Regions from separate parts of the Homo sapiens genome. Here regions 1, 2 and 4 are each linked to region 3. The links are contacts of gene promoters, found by promoter capture Hi-C in human tissues and cell types (Jung and others, 2019). All regions are on one chromosome and are shown on one strand. Each heading gives the region's core, a stretch centred on a gene start or on the middle of the fragment in contact. The rest is flanking DNA. Distances are from core to core; before and after follow the strand shown.

The links. Contacts are between HindIII fragments. The study calls those that stand out against the background at their distance.
Region 1: a contact is called between a fragment that was not itself captured here and the fragment with the promoter of MYL10 in region 3, in 2 of the 25 tissues and cell types used here (lymphoblastoid cells and spleen).
Region 2: a fragment that was not itself captured here is called in contact with the fragment with the promoter of MYL10 in region 3 in 3 of the 25 tissues and cell types used here (IMR-90 fibroblasts, lymphoblastoid cells and spleen).
Region 4: a contact is called between the fragment with the promoter of ORAI2 here and the fragment with the promoter of MYL10 in region 3, in 2 of the 25 tissues and cell types used here (bladder and dorsolateral prefrontal cortex).

What each region holds. Positions count from the first base shown.
Region 1 is chr7:102,324,038-102,327,458 of GRCh38, forward strand. It overlaps LOC107986717 (a long non-coding RNA gene), which reads right to left. Exons shown (of 3, transcript XR_001744970.3): 3 at 3,008-3,331. Among named protein-coding and RNA genes, the nearest start is that of SPDYE6, 31 kb to the right of the region's middle. The HindIII fragment of the contact is 5,177 bases long and covers 1-3,421 here.
Region 2 is chr7:102,142,282-102,145,423 of GRCh38, forward strand. The region is part of intron 8 of CUX1 (cut like homeobox 1); the gene reads left to right. Among named protein-coding and RNA genes, the nearest start is that of SH2B2, 140 kb to the right of the region's middle. The HindIII fragment of the contact is 8,914 bases long and covers 1-3,142 here.
Region 3 is chr7:101,627,836-101,631,011 of GRCh38, forward strand. It overlaps MYL10 (myosin light chain 10), which reads right to left and starts at 1,461. Exons shown (of 8, transcript NM_138403.5): 1 at 1,206-1,461. The coding sequence starts at 1,283. The HindIII fragment of the contact is 21,528 bases long and covers 1-2,836 here.
Region 4 is chr7:102,432,115-102,435,607 of GRCh38, forward strand. ORAI2 (ORAI calcium release-activated calcium modulator 2) reads left to right here and starts at 1,461. Exons shown (of 4, transcript NM_001126340.3): 1 at 1,461-1,547. RefSeq lists silencers at 921-1,060, 1,091-1,870. The HindIII fragment of the contact is 14,608 bases long and covers 1-3,493 here.

The DNA of each region.
Region 1 (3,421 bases), core at 665-3,164, 700 kb after region 3:
CGGGGGGGGACAGCAGAAGTTGATACGGTGACTGCCCCCCCCCGGGCTCTCCCAAGGGATGCAGCAGGAAGGCCCAGGAGGTCAGTGAAAAGGGGGCTCTCTCTTCAGTATGGTCACCAGCGTGAGATCCTCAAGCCTGTCACTCAAGAGGGTGGTTCCAGATAGCCCAGACTCAGTGGCTCTGGCGAAATCACAGCCATTGCACAGACGGCAGCAACATTTTCAAGGGGGTTTCATTTGTTCCTCAACAAGCATTTCAGATGCCTGCTCTGCGCCAGGCCAGGCCCATGGGGTAGCTGAGCCAAGCTTTGGGACCACAAGTGCCCTGGCTGACCTGTGACACTGGGTGTCGCAGACATGGGGGACTGCAGGCGCAGGAGCAGCGAGGTGGGATATGAGACCTGCAAGGTAGAGAGAGCCTTGAATGCCAGGCCAGGGAGTTTGGAAGGTGCTGAGAGCCAGTGCCAATTAAAATGGGAGCTGAGATCACCCTGTGGCCAGAGGGTTGGGGCAAGGATGGATTGAAGGCGGCAAAATGAGGCGGGGGGCCAGGGAGGCTGTGGTGGGTCTGGGTGAGGGGCAAGGGGCCAGGGCAGGGCAGCAGAGCAGGAGGACAGTGACGGAAGAAAGATCACAACCGGGTGTGGTGGCTCACGCCTGTAATCCCAACACTTTGGGAGGCCAAGGCGGGTGGATCACTTGAAGTCAGGAGTTCAAGACCAGTCTGGCCAACATGGCGAAACCCCGTCTCTATTGAAAATACAAAAATTAGCCGAGTGTGGTGGCACGTGCCTGTAATCCCAGCTACCCGGAAGGCTGAGGCAAGAGAATGGCTTGAACCCAGGAGGTGGAGGTTGCAGTGAGCCGAGATCATGCCACTGCACTCTAGCCTGGGACACAAAGAGAGACTTGTCTCTAAATAAATACATAAATAAATAAATAGAACTGGCGTACAAAACAAAATCAAATACAGTACAATAAAAATCAGTTCCTTCTGGTGGGCGTTTCTGTTATATTTTTCTTTTTTTTTTTTTAGGGGGCATGGTGTGACCGTGCTTTCATGGTCTGTCTTCCTACTGAAAATCAACATCAATCGAGCTTCTGCCTTCCTGCTCCGGGGAAGGGTTTTTTGTCCTCCCTGAGATCACCTTAGACCCTATTGGGCACTTCTAACTTAGAAAAGTTCTAGCCCATTTGGGGTAGAAGAAATAAACTTCCTGCGATGGCGAGGGGCTCTTACATCCCTAGTATTAAGAGACAGCAAAGCAGCCAGGCGCGGTGACTCATGCCTGTAATCTCAACACTTTGGGAGGCCGAGGCAGGCAGATCACTTGAGGTCAGGAGTTCGAGACCAGCCTGGCCAATATGGTAAAACGCCATCTCCACTAAAAATACAAAAATTAGCCCAGCGTGGTGGCGGCACCTGTAATTCCACCTACTCAGGAGGCTGAGGCAGGAGAATCACTTGAACTGGGGAGGTGGAGGTTGCAGTGAGCCAAGATTGCTCCACTGCACTCCAGCCTGGGCAACAGAGTGAGACCCTGTCTCAAAAAGAAAAAAAAAAAGCAAAGCGATACACTAATGTGAATGTTGAGTAATGAATCTCATTCATTGTCCCCAAATCCTATATTTATTTCTTATTTATTTTAAAGAGCATCTTGATCTGTTGCCCAGGCTGGAGTGCAGTGGGGCAATCACAGGTCACTGCAGCCTCAATCTCCTGGGCTCAAATGATCCTCCCACCTCAGCCTCCCAAGTAGCTGGGACTACAGGTGGGTGTCACCACACCCTGCTAATTTTTAATTTTATTGTAGAGACCAGGAGTCTCACTATGTTTCTCAGGCTGGCCTTGAACTCCTATCCTCAAGTGATCCTCCTGCCTCGGTCCAAAAGCCTTTTTTTTTTTTTTTTTTTCTGAGACAGAGTCTTGCTCTGTCACTCAGGCTGGAGTGTAGTGGTGGGATCTTGGCTCACTGCAACCTCTGCCTCCCGGGTTCAAGCAATTCTCATGCCTCAGCCTCCCGAGTAGCTGGGACTACAGGTGCCCACTACCACGCCCAGCTAACTTTTGTATTTTTAGTAGAGACTGGGTTTCGCCATGTTGGCCAGACTGGTCTTGAACTCCTGACCTCAGGTGATCCACCCACCTCGGCCTCCCAAAAAGCTGCAGTTACAGGCATGAGCCACCGCACCCGGCCTCAAAATCCTTTAATAAGAAAAAAACATGTATTTGGCCAAAACATGCATTTGGCTAGGTAGAAAGTTTTCTGCAGTGCCCACCCTTCCCCCTAAAAGGCCCTAAGCCAGGGATTTCTAATCTCTTTTGTGCCTCAGGCCCCTGACAGTCTGGGGAAGACTATTATAGCCTGCTTAGCATAATGTTTAAAGTGCACAGAATTAAATACATAGACTTGCAAGGAAAACCAATTACCCTGAAATTCAGTCAAAATACTAAATACAATTAAAAAGTAATCAAAATATTTTTTAAACTGGTGATGTGGTAATATACATGCTTCTTTATTAACACTTTAAATAGCAAGCTTTAATAGCAGCCCTCATAACTACTGTAATTTCAGTCAATGATGAGCATGAATGATACTTTGGGGTTCTGTAACAAACTAGACGCGCTGTGAAAAGATCCCTTATTTGAATAAGCTCAATGGCTCACATCTGTAAGCCAGCACTTCGGAAGACTGAGGTAGGAGGATCGCTTGAGGCCAGGAGTTCAAGAACAGCCTGGGCAACAGAACGAGACACACCCTACTCTGCAAAAAATACAGAAAACAGCCGGGCACGGTGGCTCACACCTATAATCCCAGCACTTTGGGAGGCTGAGGCGGGAGGATTGTTTGAGCCCAGGAGGTCGAGACCAGCCTGGGCAACATGGCACAACCTTGTCTTCTCTGCAAAAAAATACCAAAAAAATTAGCCAGGCACGATGGCATGCACCTGTAGTCCCAGCCACCTGGGAGTCTGAGGTGGGAGTATCACCGGAGCCTGGGAGGTCAGTTGCACCACTCTGTCTCAAAAAAAAAAAAAATGCTCTCTCATTCAAGGTTACCCTTCTATTACTCCAAGGATTCACCCCATAATCTTATCTTTCTTGATATGTTACATTCACTGAAATGTTCACATCAAATCAAGTTTGTAGACACTTGTCCTTACCACCTTACAAAAAGTGAGATGGTATCAACAGAGGTGAGACACGGCTTTACCTGCATGTCACTTTTGGCAGCTTTCACAGCATTGAAAAGATCATTGGCTGGTGGCTCTGACTGTTTCCGGCTATGACGATGTACCACTCGGGACCCTTTCTTTCGTTGTTTGCCACCTAATATGTATAAAAAGATCAGAAATATGAAAAAAAGGTAACAGTGACATTAACACTTGGTCTCATCATTATCACACAAGTAGGCTTACG
Region 2 (3,142 bases), core at 627-3,126, 510 kb after region 3:
ACCAGGAATGGCAAACAGAACCTGAAAGGTGGTTCTGAAAGAGAGAATGCAGAAACTGGGCAAGCAGTACTCCCACCTGTAGGAAGGTTTGCTGGCGAAGTTTCACACTAAAACATGAAGGAGACTGTTAAAAACAATGGGTATAGATGACAGAACAGCATCCCTTCCTAAACAGCCTTTAAAAGTCTGAAACTAGGGCCAGGTGTGGTAGTTCACACCTGTAAGCCCAGCTAGTTGGGAGGCTGAGGCAGGAGGATCACTTGAGCCCAGGAATTTGAGGCTGCAGTGAGCCATGATAGTACCACTGCACTCCAGCCTGGGCAACAGAGCAAGACCCTGTCTCTACAAAAAATAAATTAGCCATGTGTAATGGTGCACACCTGTAGTCCCAGGTATTCAGGGGATCGAGACAGGAGGATCACTTGAAGACAGGAGTTCAAGACCAGCCTGGCCAACATAGTGAGACCTTGTTTCTGCAAAAAATTTAAAAATTAGCCGGGAGAGGTGATGCACACTTGTAGTCCCAGCTACTTGGGAGGCCGAGGCAGGAGGATCTCTTGAGCCCATGAGTTCAAGGCTGCAGTGAGCCATGGTCAAACCACTGCACTCCAGCCTGGGCAACAGAGCAAGACCCATCTATTAAAAAATAATAATAATAATAAAAACAAATCTGAAAGTAAAGAAGTAACAACCGGTCCCCATTTCCTGCCAGGTTGTTGTCTACCCGTGATTCCTGGCACAGTTGGGGCAAGTCCCCGGAGTGCAGGAGCCATGTTGCCTGCGTCTTTGTAACTGTCCCATGGCCAGGGGGCTCAATGGATGGCAGGCTGCCGGCCCACGATGTCAACAGCAGGAACTTGTGCCTCAGTTTCCTCCATCACCTAAGTGTAGGCCTCTCACCATGACAGTTCCCTTCCTGGGTCAGATGGTACTTGGGGGGTTCCCTTCCAGAATTCATTTTCTTCCCATTCTCTGTTCTTGGCTAACAATCTTTTTCTTTTTTATGAGACAGAGTCTTGCTCTGTCACCCAAGCTGGAGCACAGAGGCGCGATCATAGCTCACTGCAGCCTCCAACTCCTGGGCTCAAACGATCCACCCACATCAGTCTCCAAAGTAGCTGGGACCACAAGTGCATACCACCATACCCAGCTAATTTTTGTATTAATGTTTTGTAGAGACGGAGCTTCACCATGTTGCCCAGGCTGGTCTCGAATTCCTGGGCTCAAGCGATCCTCCCACCTTGGCCTCCCAAAGTGCTGGGATTACAGGTGTGAGTCACTGCGCCTGGCCCAATCATTTTCTGTGTCAAAGAAAAACATATATATGGTATATTATTTTTTAAAGTCACATTCTTCTTATAGAGATGTGCTCTTTGTATACATTTTTTTCCCCTTGGCAAGTGGGTAAACGGGATTCCGGGAAGGTAACTGTCTTGACTAAAGTTAGCAGAGTCTGGCATCAGGTGGACCGCACAGGACGGCCACTTCTTCTTTTGTTTTTTTGTTTTGTTTTGTTTGAGACGGAGTCTCAATCTGTCTCACCAAGACTGGAGTGCCGTGGTGCGATCTCAGCTCACTGTAGCCTCCACCTCCTGGGTTCAAGCCATCCTCCTGTCTCAGCCTCCCGAGTAGCTGGAATTACAGGCATGCACCACCCCACCCGGCCAATTTTGTATTTTTAGTAGAGACGAGCCTTTACCATGTTGGCCAGGCTGGTCTCGAACTCCTGACCTCAGGCAATCCACCCACCTCAGCCTCCCAAAGTGCTGGGATTACAGGCGTGAGCCACTGCGCCCAGCCAGGACGGCCACTTCTAATCCATATTCTTTTCCACAGCTGCAGCCACAGCCATGCAGCGTCCTTTAGATTCTCCTTCTTCTTGAGTATTTTTATGTCTTGCTTATCACCTTGTTTCATTGCAAATGGAATAGTAGCAGTCAGCATCAGTGCACGCTTTACAATTAATGAGTGACGATGGAGGGATACCTGACTACTGTGATGCTCTTCACTTTTTTTGTTGTCTTATTGGGTTTTTTGTTTATGTTTCATATGTTAAATTTCCGACGTACGCGTGACCTGGTGTCAGCATCTCCCGTTCATGGCCCATCCCGTCTCACCTGTCCCCACTCCTGTTTTGACTTGAAGCTACTCCCAGAATCCTTTCATTTCCTTTCTAAACATTTTAACACACATATCCTCACAATAAGGACTTTCTTTTTAATATAGTCACAGCGCAATTAGCACATTCAAAAATAATTTTTCACCTGCAGTCCCAGCAACTCAGGAGGCTGAGGTGGGAGGATTGCTTGAGCCCGGGAGGTTGAGGCTGCAGTGAGCTATGATCACACCACTACGCTCCAGCCTGGGTGACAAAGCAAGACCCTGTCTCAAAAAAAAAAAAAAACAGTAAAAATAATAATCATAATAATTTTTTAATATGATCAGGTAAATCTAGCCAGTTTTGAAATTTCTAGTTGCCCCCAAACTTCATAATGGTTTTATTTTCTAAAATTATTTTAATTTAGGCTGGGCGCAATGGCTCACGTCTGTAATCCCAGCACTTTGGGAGGCCGAGGTGGGTGGATAACTTGAGGTCAGGAGCTTGAAAACAGCCTGGCTAACATGGCAAAACCTCGTCTCTACTAAAAACACAAAAATTAGCTGGGTGTGGTGGCACACACCTGTAGTCCCAGCTACTCAGGAGGCTGAGGCAGTGGAATCACCTGAACGGAGAGGCGGAGGTTGCAGTGAGCCGAGATCGCACCACTGCACTCCAACCTGGGCGACAGAGCAAGACTCCGTCTTAAAAAAAAAAAAAAAAAAAAAAATTTGAATCTCGATTCAAGTAAGATCCACACGTTGCAGTTGGCTGGTGTATCTTTAAGTCTTGGTCATTGTATAGATTCCCTCTTCGTCACTTTTTCTTTTCCTTGCAATGTATTTGTGCTAGAAATGGGGTCATTTGTCCAGAAAAGATTCTCCACCCCACTGCTGAGATTTTACTGATTGCCTCCCCAGAAATAGTTTATCATGCTCCTCTGTCCTCATGCTTTCCTGAAAATTTGTGGTTGAATCTAGAGGCTTGATCAGATTCAGGCTAGAAGTTTTTGGCCAAAAGCCCCTTTGTGGGTGATTGTGATGA
Region 3 (3,176 bases), core at 211-2,710:
TTGAGCCGTCAGGGAGTGTTGCCCAGGGTGGGGCCACCCATGCTGGCTGGGACCCACTCAGACTGCAGTGTGGCCGGACCTCTGGAGCTGTGGGACTCTGGGTGGGACATCACCCTCTAGGAGGCTCAGCCATCTCATAGGAATAGGGGGGAGTGTATGAAACCCCCGGTCTGCTTATGGAGAGAGTTTCTGCACCAACCTGGCCCTCGGGGGCCCCTTCTACCAATATGCCTATTATCAGGGTGTCCATTAAGCACCCCCAGGCCAGGGGACCCCCTCAGGGCACTGAAATGCTCAATGAACAGAGAAAGCAACAGGACAAATAAAAGAAAAATGGGGTGGGCGCAGTGGCTCACGCCTGTAATCCCAGAGCTTTCGGAGGCCAAGAGGGAAGGATCGCTTCAGGCCAGGAGTTCAAGACCAGCCTGGGCAACATAGTGAGACCCCTATCTCTACAAAATATCAAAAAAATTAGCCGAGCATGGTGGTGTGCTCTTGTAGTCCCACCTACTCAGGAGGCTGAGGCAGGAGGATTGCTTGAGTCCAGGAGTTTGAGGCTGCAGTGATCTATGATTGTGCCACTGCACTCCAGCCTGGGCGACAGAGTGAGATATTGTCTCTTAAAAAAAAGAAAACAGAAAACTGGAGGTGACTCTGATGAGGAAGAACTGAAAAATGAGACCTCCATTCCACCCTGGCCTCACACACACACATCCATCCCCACCAGGCCTGGCCCAGCCCAAGAATTCTCTAGTAGATCTGCCAAACAGAGCCCACACCTGCCCTGGAAAGCCCCTCCTGTGTCTAGTGCAGCCCCAGCAGCCCCAGCTCGGCCTCAGAGGCTGCCACTGTCCATCTGGGGCCCGCCATATCTGAACAGCTGCCAGGGCCGGCAGTGCTGGGTTCAGGCAGTGAGCCCACGGGTCCCCAGGGGCTGGAGAGCTTAACTGTCCCTGGAGCTGGCCTCAGGCCTTCAGCCCCGGGTACAGCTGATCCCCTGCCTTTGGGGAAGGGAATATCATAATAATAATAAGAAGAGCAGCTAATATACAACACAGAAGGTCAGGCCATGTCTTAAAACACGTGTCCTCACATTCAATCCATATCCCATTTTCCAGATGAGGAAACTGAGGCACGCATGGGTTAAGTCACTCACCCAAGGCAGATAAGAAGTGGGGCCAGAGGCCAGGCACAGTGGCTCATACCTGTAATCCCAGCACTTTGGGAGGCCGAGGAGGGAGGATCACTTGAGGCCAGGAGTTTGAGACCAGCCTAAGCAACATGGTGAAACTCTGTTTCTACAAAAAAATTTTTTTTAATTAAAAAATTAGTCAGGCATAGTGGTGAAGTGAAAAAGTTCCCTTATCCCGTTCATAGGGCATGCGATGGGGGTGTGGCTCGCTTCTTCCATGCCCAGCTGCTCAAACCTCTAGGCGGACCATGCAGACAGGCAGGCTATGGGGCTCCGACCCCACGGCAGTGTCTAGGGGTGGATGCTTACAGCTCCTGAAGCCCCAGTGGGCGTGTGTTACAGGATGCTCTTTTACTTTTGCCATCTGTAGGTGGCTTGTGTTCATCAGCTCAGTTAGACCCTCTGCCTTATTGCAAGGACAAAGGGCTTTTTGTATCCTGGGGTTCTTGCCTTGGTGTACTGTGAAAATTGAATCACATGTGGGCTTGGAGAATGAGTGCGAGGTTTTATTGAGTGGTGGAAGTAGCTCTCAGCAGATGATGGGGAGCCAGAAGGGGGATGGAGTGGGAAGGTGATTTTTCCCCTGAAGTCAAGGTGCTCAGCAGCCAGACTCTCCTCTGACCATCCCCAGCCAAATTCCCCTGGGCATTTGTGTTATTCAGCCAGTCGATGGCCTGCCAGCATCTGCCAGTGCTGTCGGTGTGCTCTTCCGATCCTCTGCTCCTCTTGATGTCCAGCCACCTGTGTGTGTACCCACTGGGGTCTCAGGGTTTTCATAGGCACAGGATGGGCGGGGGGGCGGGGGGCGTGGTGGGCCAGGGTGGTCTTGGAAAATGTGACATTTGGGCATATAAACAGGAGTGCCTGTCCTCACCTAGGTCCGTGGGCACAGGCCCAAGGGTGGAGCCCTTGCCAGGGACCCTGCCTTTCTCCTCTCAGCACTTCCCTGTCCCCCCTCCTGTATCAGTGGCACATGCCTGCAGGCCCAGCTACTTAGGAGGCTGAGGTGGGAGGATCACATGAGCCCAGGAGGTTGAGGCTTCAATGAGCTGTGATTGCACCACTGCACTCCAGCCTGGACAACAGATCAAGGTCTCATTTCTAAAACAAAAAAAAAAAAAAAAAAAAAGAGAGAGAGAGAGGGAGGGCCAGGACAAGAGCCCCTCTTTCTAGTGTTTCCAGAAGGAAGCTTCCAAAAGGTTCTGCTCATCCAAACTCTCCCCTCCTCCTGCTCCCTCCCAGTCATCCCTGACTACAGCTATTTCTGATGTCCCTAAACTCCTGTGACTGAGTGCTCCTCCCAGAGCTGGGGCCAGGTCCAGCCATGATGCTGTGCAGCCCGCTTTCTGCAGCAGGAAACCGTGTGCCTCAGTTTCCCCGACAGGGCTGCTCTCCTGGTGTCCTGGCGTTCCTCTCCGGGGAGAAAAACCACACGTTCCACAGGTGTTCAACAAGCCAGGCGGAAAGGAGAACCCAGCTCTGGGGACGGGAGCCTGGATTCCAGTCCCAGCCGCCTGGACCTGCTACAGAAGGGGGCCTGTGTGACCGCGACAGTGGCTAGGGTGCAGGCTTTCCATGCCCGGTCTGTGAGCCTGGCCCTGGGGCCTCCTGGCTCTGGGCTTACAGAGTGGGTAGCAGACCTATAACTCCTGCTTCCTGCCTCTGGCTTCCTGCTGCCCTGAGGCCTCTGCAAGCAAGGGCTCTTGCCTCCGGGGAGCACGCCCAGGACCGTGGCAGGGGCTCCCAAAGGCCGGGGACAGGCCTGAGCAAGCGGAGAGCCCCCCCGCCTGCCCGGAGGAGGGGAAGCGGCGCTGGTGAATCACACCGGGCTTACAAATTAGTCTGAGTGGATTTCCTCCCCTGGCCTCCTCCTTCATAGGACCGGAGGCAGGAAGAACCGGTGAGAAATCTGGTAGAGACGTGAAAACCCCGGGGTGAGATGGTTGGGAGATGTTTGTTCCTGGGGGGCGGGAAGTGTGAGGGT
Region 4 (3,493 bases), core at 211-2,710, 800 kb after region 3:
TTGGGACCCCAGGGGTCTCGCTGGGTCTGTGAGTGGCAGTGCACTCTGGGTGGCAACCCCCAATTAGCTCAGTGCAAGCTCTTCATGGTGCCATCCAACACCCTGGGCAGGGGCCAAGCAAGGTGGCCCATGCCTCTATGCCCAGCACTTTGGGAGGCTGAGGTGGGAGGATCACTTGAGCCCAGGAGTTCGAGACCAGCAGAGGCAACATAGCAAGACCCATCTCAATTTTTTTAAAAAATTTAAAAATTAGCTGGACATTGTGGCACATGCCTGTAATCCCAGTGCTTTGAGAGGCTAAGAGAGGATTGCTTGAGGCCAGGAGTTTAAGACCAGTCTGGGCAATACAGGAAGACTCTATCTCTAAAAAAAGAATTTTTTTTTTTTTTTTTGGCTGGGCACAGTGGCTCACATGTATCATCCCAGCACTTTGGGAGGCCGAGGCAGGCAGGATCACCTGAGGTCAGGAGTTCAAGACCAGTCCGGCCAACATGGTGAAACCCCATCTCTACTAAACATACAAAAAAGTAGCCAGGCTAGTGGCGTGCACCTGTAGCTCGGAGGCTGAGACAGGAGAATCGTTTCAACCCCGGGGTCGGGGGTTGCAGTGAGCCAAGATGGCACCACTGCACTCCAGCCTGGGTGACAGGGCAAAACTCCCTCTCAAAAAACAAACAAAAACAAATTTTTTAAAAACTACCACGGTGTGGTGGCTCCTGCCTACATGTAGCCTCAGCACTTTGGGTGACTGAGGGCAGAGGATCACTCGAGCTCAGGAATTCGAGGCTGCATTGAACCGTGATCGCACCACTGCAGTCCAGCCTGGGCGACAGAGCCAGACCCTGTCTCAAAAAAATAAAAAAAAAAATCCTGTGAAAACTCGGGCGTGGCCAGACGGATTCTCCCCTCCCCACCTTCCTTTCCCCTCCACTGCCCACCTGCACCCGCCCGCCCTGTCCCCACTCCCCGCCCCTCTACGCAGCCAGCGTCCAATGCTGGGCACCCCCCGAGGCTCACCCTGCCAAGCCTGGGGCTCCCCTTTTGCGCCCGGACCCAGGGGCAGGGAAAGCCCAGCTCGTGGTCTGTGGGTAGCCGGACCCCCGATGGGGCGGTGGGGGGCCTCGCCTTGACTCCCAGAGCTGGGGCCGGGGACAGGAGCTGGGGCAGGAGGGATGCGCGCGGGTCGGGGTCTTCCCACCTCCCCTGCTCCTCTCCCTCGCGCGATCCCGGGGTGGTTCCAGGTGAGGCGGGGACCCCCACCCCCCCACTCTCCGAGGAGGCGCCGCCAGCCCCGCCCCTCCCGGCCCGGCGGGTGACGTGGCCGCGGCTCTCCCGCGGGTGGGTCACGTGTTGGCGGCGCCTGGTTGCCTTGGCAGCGGCTGCGGCGGCCGCGGGGGCGGGGTGGAGGCGGGGCCGGGGGACCCCGCGCGACCGGCGGAAGGAGGGAGGGGGCCGCGCTCGGCGCCCCGGCCGGGCCACTGGGCCACAGGCCACGCGGCCACGCAGTCCGAGCGGGAGCCGAGCCGGGCGGGGCGAGGGCAGCTCCGGTGAGTGTGGCGGCGCGGGGGCCTGGCGCGGGGAGCGGGGTCCCTGCGGCTGGGGGGGCCGGAATTGGACCGGGGACGCTCGGCGGGGAAGGGGACGACTGTAGGCTGCCCGGGCGCGGTCACTACCCATCCGGGGTTGGTGACCTCCACCCCGCGGGATCCCTGGCGGGGTGCGGCGCCCAGAGGATCAGGGTCGGCGGCGCAGCCGGTTCCGGACACCGGGGCGTCCCTGGGGGAGGGACAGGGATGCAGCCTAGCGCCCCTGGGAGGCCCCCTCCCAGTGCGCCTGCTGGAGAGAGACACTCGCCATTGCCGGTGCCCCAGATGCTTAGAGGAAGTCAAACTCCAAGACCGCCCTCTGGAAATGTGTCCAGTAGGCCAGCCAGGAAGAAAAGCTCATCTCTAGAGAGGGGATCGCGTTATTCTACAAGACCTGTTTTCTCGGACTGCTCATTAAAGCAAAAAAAAAAAAAAAAAAAAAAAAGCAACCCCACAAGGTTCAGTCCCGGAGCATCCTCTAGGGTCTGTGCCACCTGACAGAAGTACAGGGCTCCATCCTGCCCCACCCCACCCCCTGCCTGGGATCCAGTGTGAGGCCCAGACTCTGTCCCTCCCCCTGGGCCACCGGGCCTGGCACACACAGTTGGCATTGGGAACATAAAGGATGGATTTGAACCCCCTCCTGGGCTGCTCCTTCGAGACCTGGAGACCTGTCTCAAGACCCAGCTCCAGGCAGACAGACATCGTTTCCTCCACAATCCCACCCACTCTGGGGACATCTGCAGGGCCTCACCGATGGGGCATGGGAGGCCTGGCGGCTCCCAGGAAGCCACCCTCAGCCCTCACTGCCCTGAGCTCTTCACCTCCACTCTCAGACCTGAGCCCAGCCCACCCTTACTGATGGGGCATCCCTCTTGTTCACCCTTCCTTCCTTTGGAGGCCACCAGGCTCTCCCTTGCGTCCCACTCCTGCCAGTCGGCCAGCCATTTCCCTGGGTTGAACTGTGGTCCCAAACCAGAATGATCTAGCAGTGCCCAGACCGTTCCACTCACCAATTTCTTCCATTCTCCTGTGGCTGGACGCCCAGTCATGCTGCCCAGACCCTCTGGCTCATTCCACAGCCCCAGGCTCCAAGTGTCTTCCACCCACATCTCCCTGCCCCCTCCACCCCCCAGGTGGCAGCCAGTCTTCCCTCCATATCTCCTGGACAAGGAGAGCCACCCCACATGTACACCTGGAGTGGCCTTCCCGTCTCTCGGAATCCTTCCATGCAGGCAGCATCTTGTCTTTGAGGAAAGGTCCCTCTTTTTTAAAATTCTTTTTAGAGGCCAGGCGCAGTGGTTCATGCCTATAATCTCAGCACTTTGGGAGGCCAAGGTGGGCGGATCACTTGAGCTCAGGAGTTCTAGACCAGCCTGGCCAACATAGCAAAACCCTGTCTCTACCAAAAATACCAAAAATTAGCCAGGTATGGTGGCACACACATGTAGTCCCAGCTACTCGGGTGGTTGAGGCGGGAGGATCGCTTGAGCCTGGGAGGTAGAATTTGCAGGGAGCTGAGATTGTGCCACTGCACTCCAGCCTTGGTAACACAGCAGGACCCCATGTCAAAAAAAATTATTTTTAGAGACAGCGTCTTACTCTGTTGCCTAGGCTGGTCTCCAGCTCCTGGCCGCAGGTGATCCTCCCACCTTGGCCTCACAAAACACTGGGATTACAGGCATGAGGCACTTTGGCATGCAAAGGGCCGCTCTGTCCCCTCCCCGGTGTTACCTGCAAGCACCTTTTCCTGGCCTTGGTGTGAGGCAGCCAGTCCTCTGCTCCCTGCCCTCCATTGAAGCCTTTAGCTCAGTGGATGAGGATTGCCCCCCCCTCTTTTTTTTTTTTTTTTTTGAGATGGAGTCTCGCTCTGTTGCCCAGGCTGGAGTGCAGTGGTGTGCTCTTGG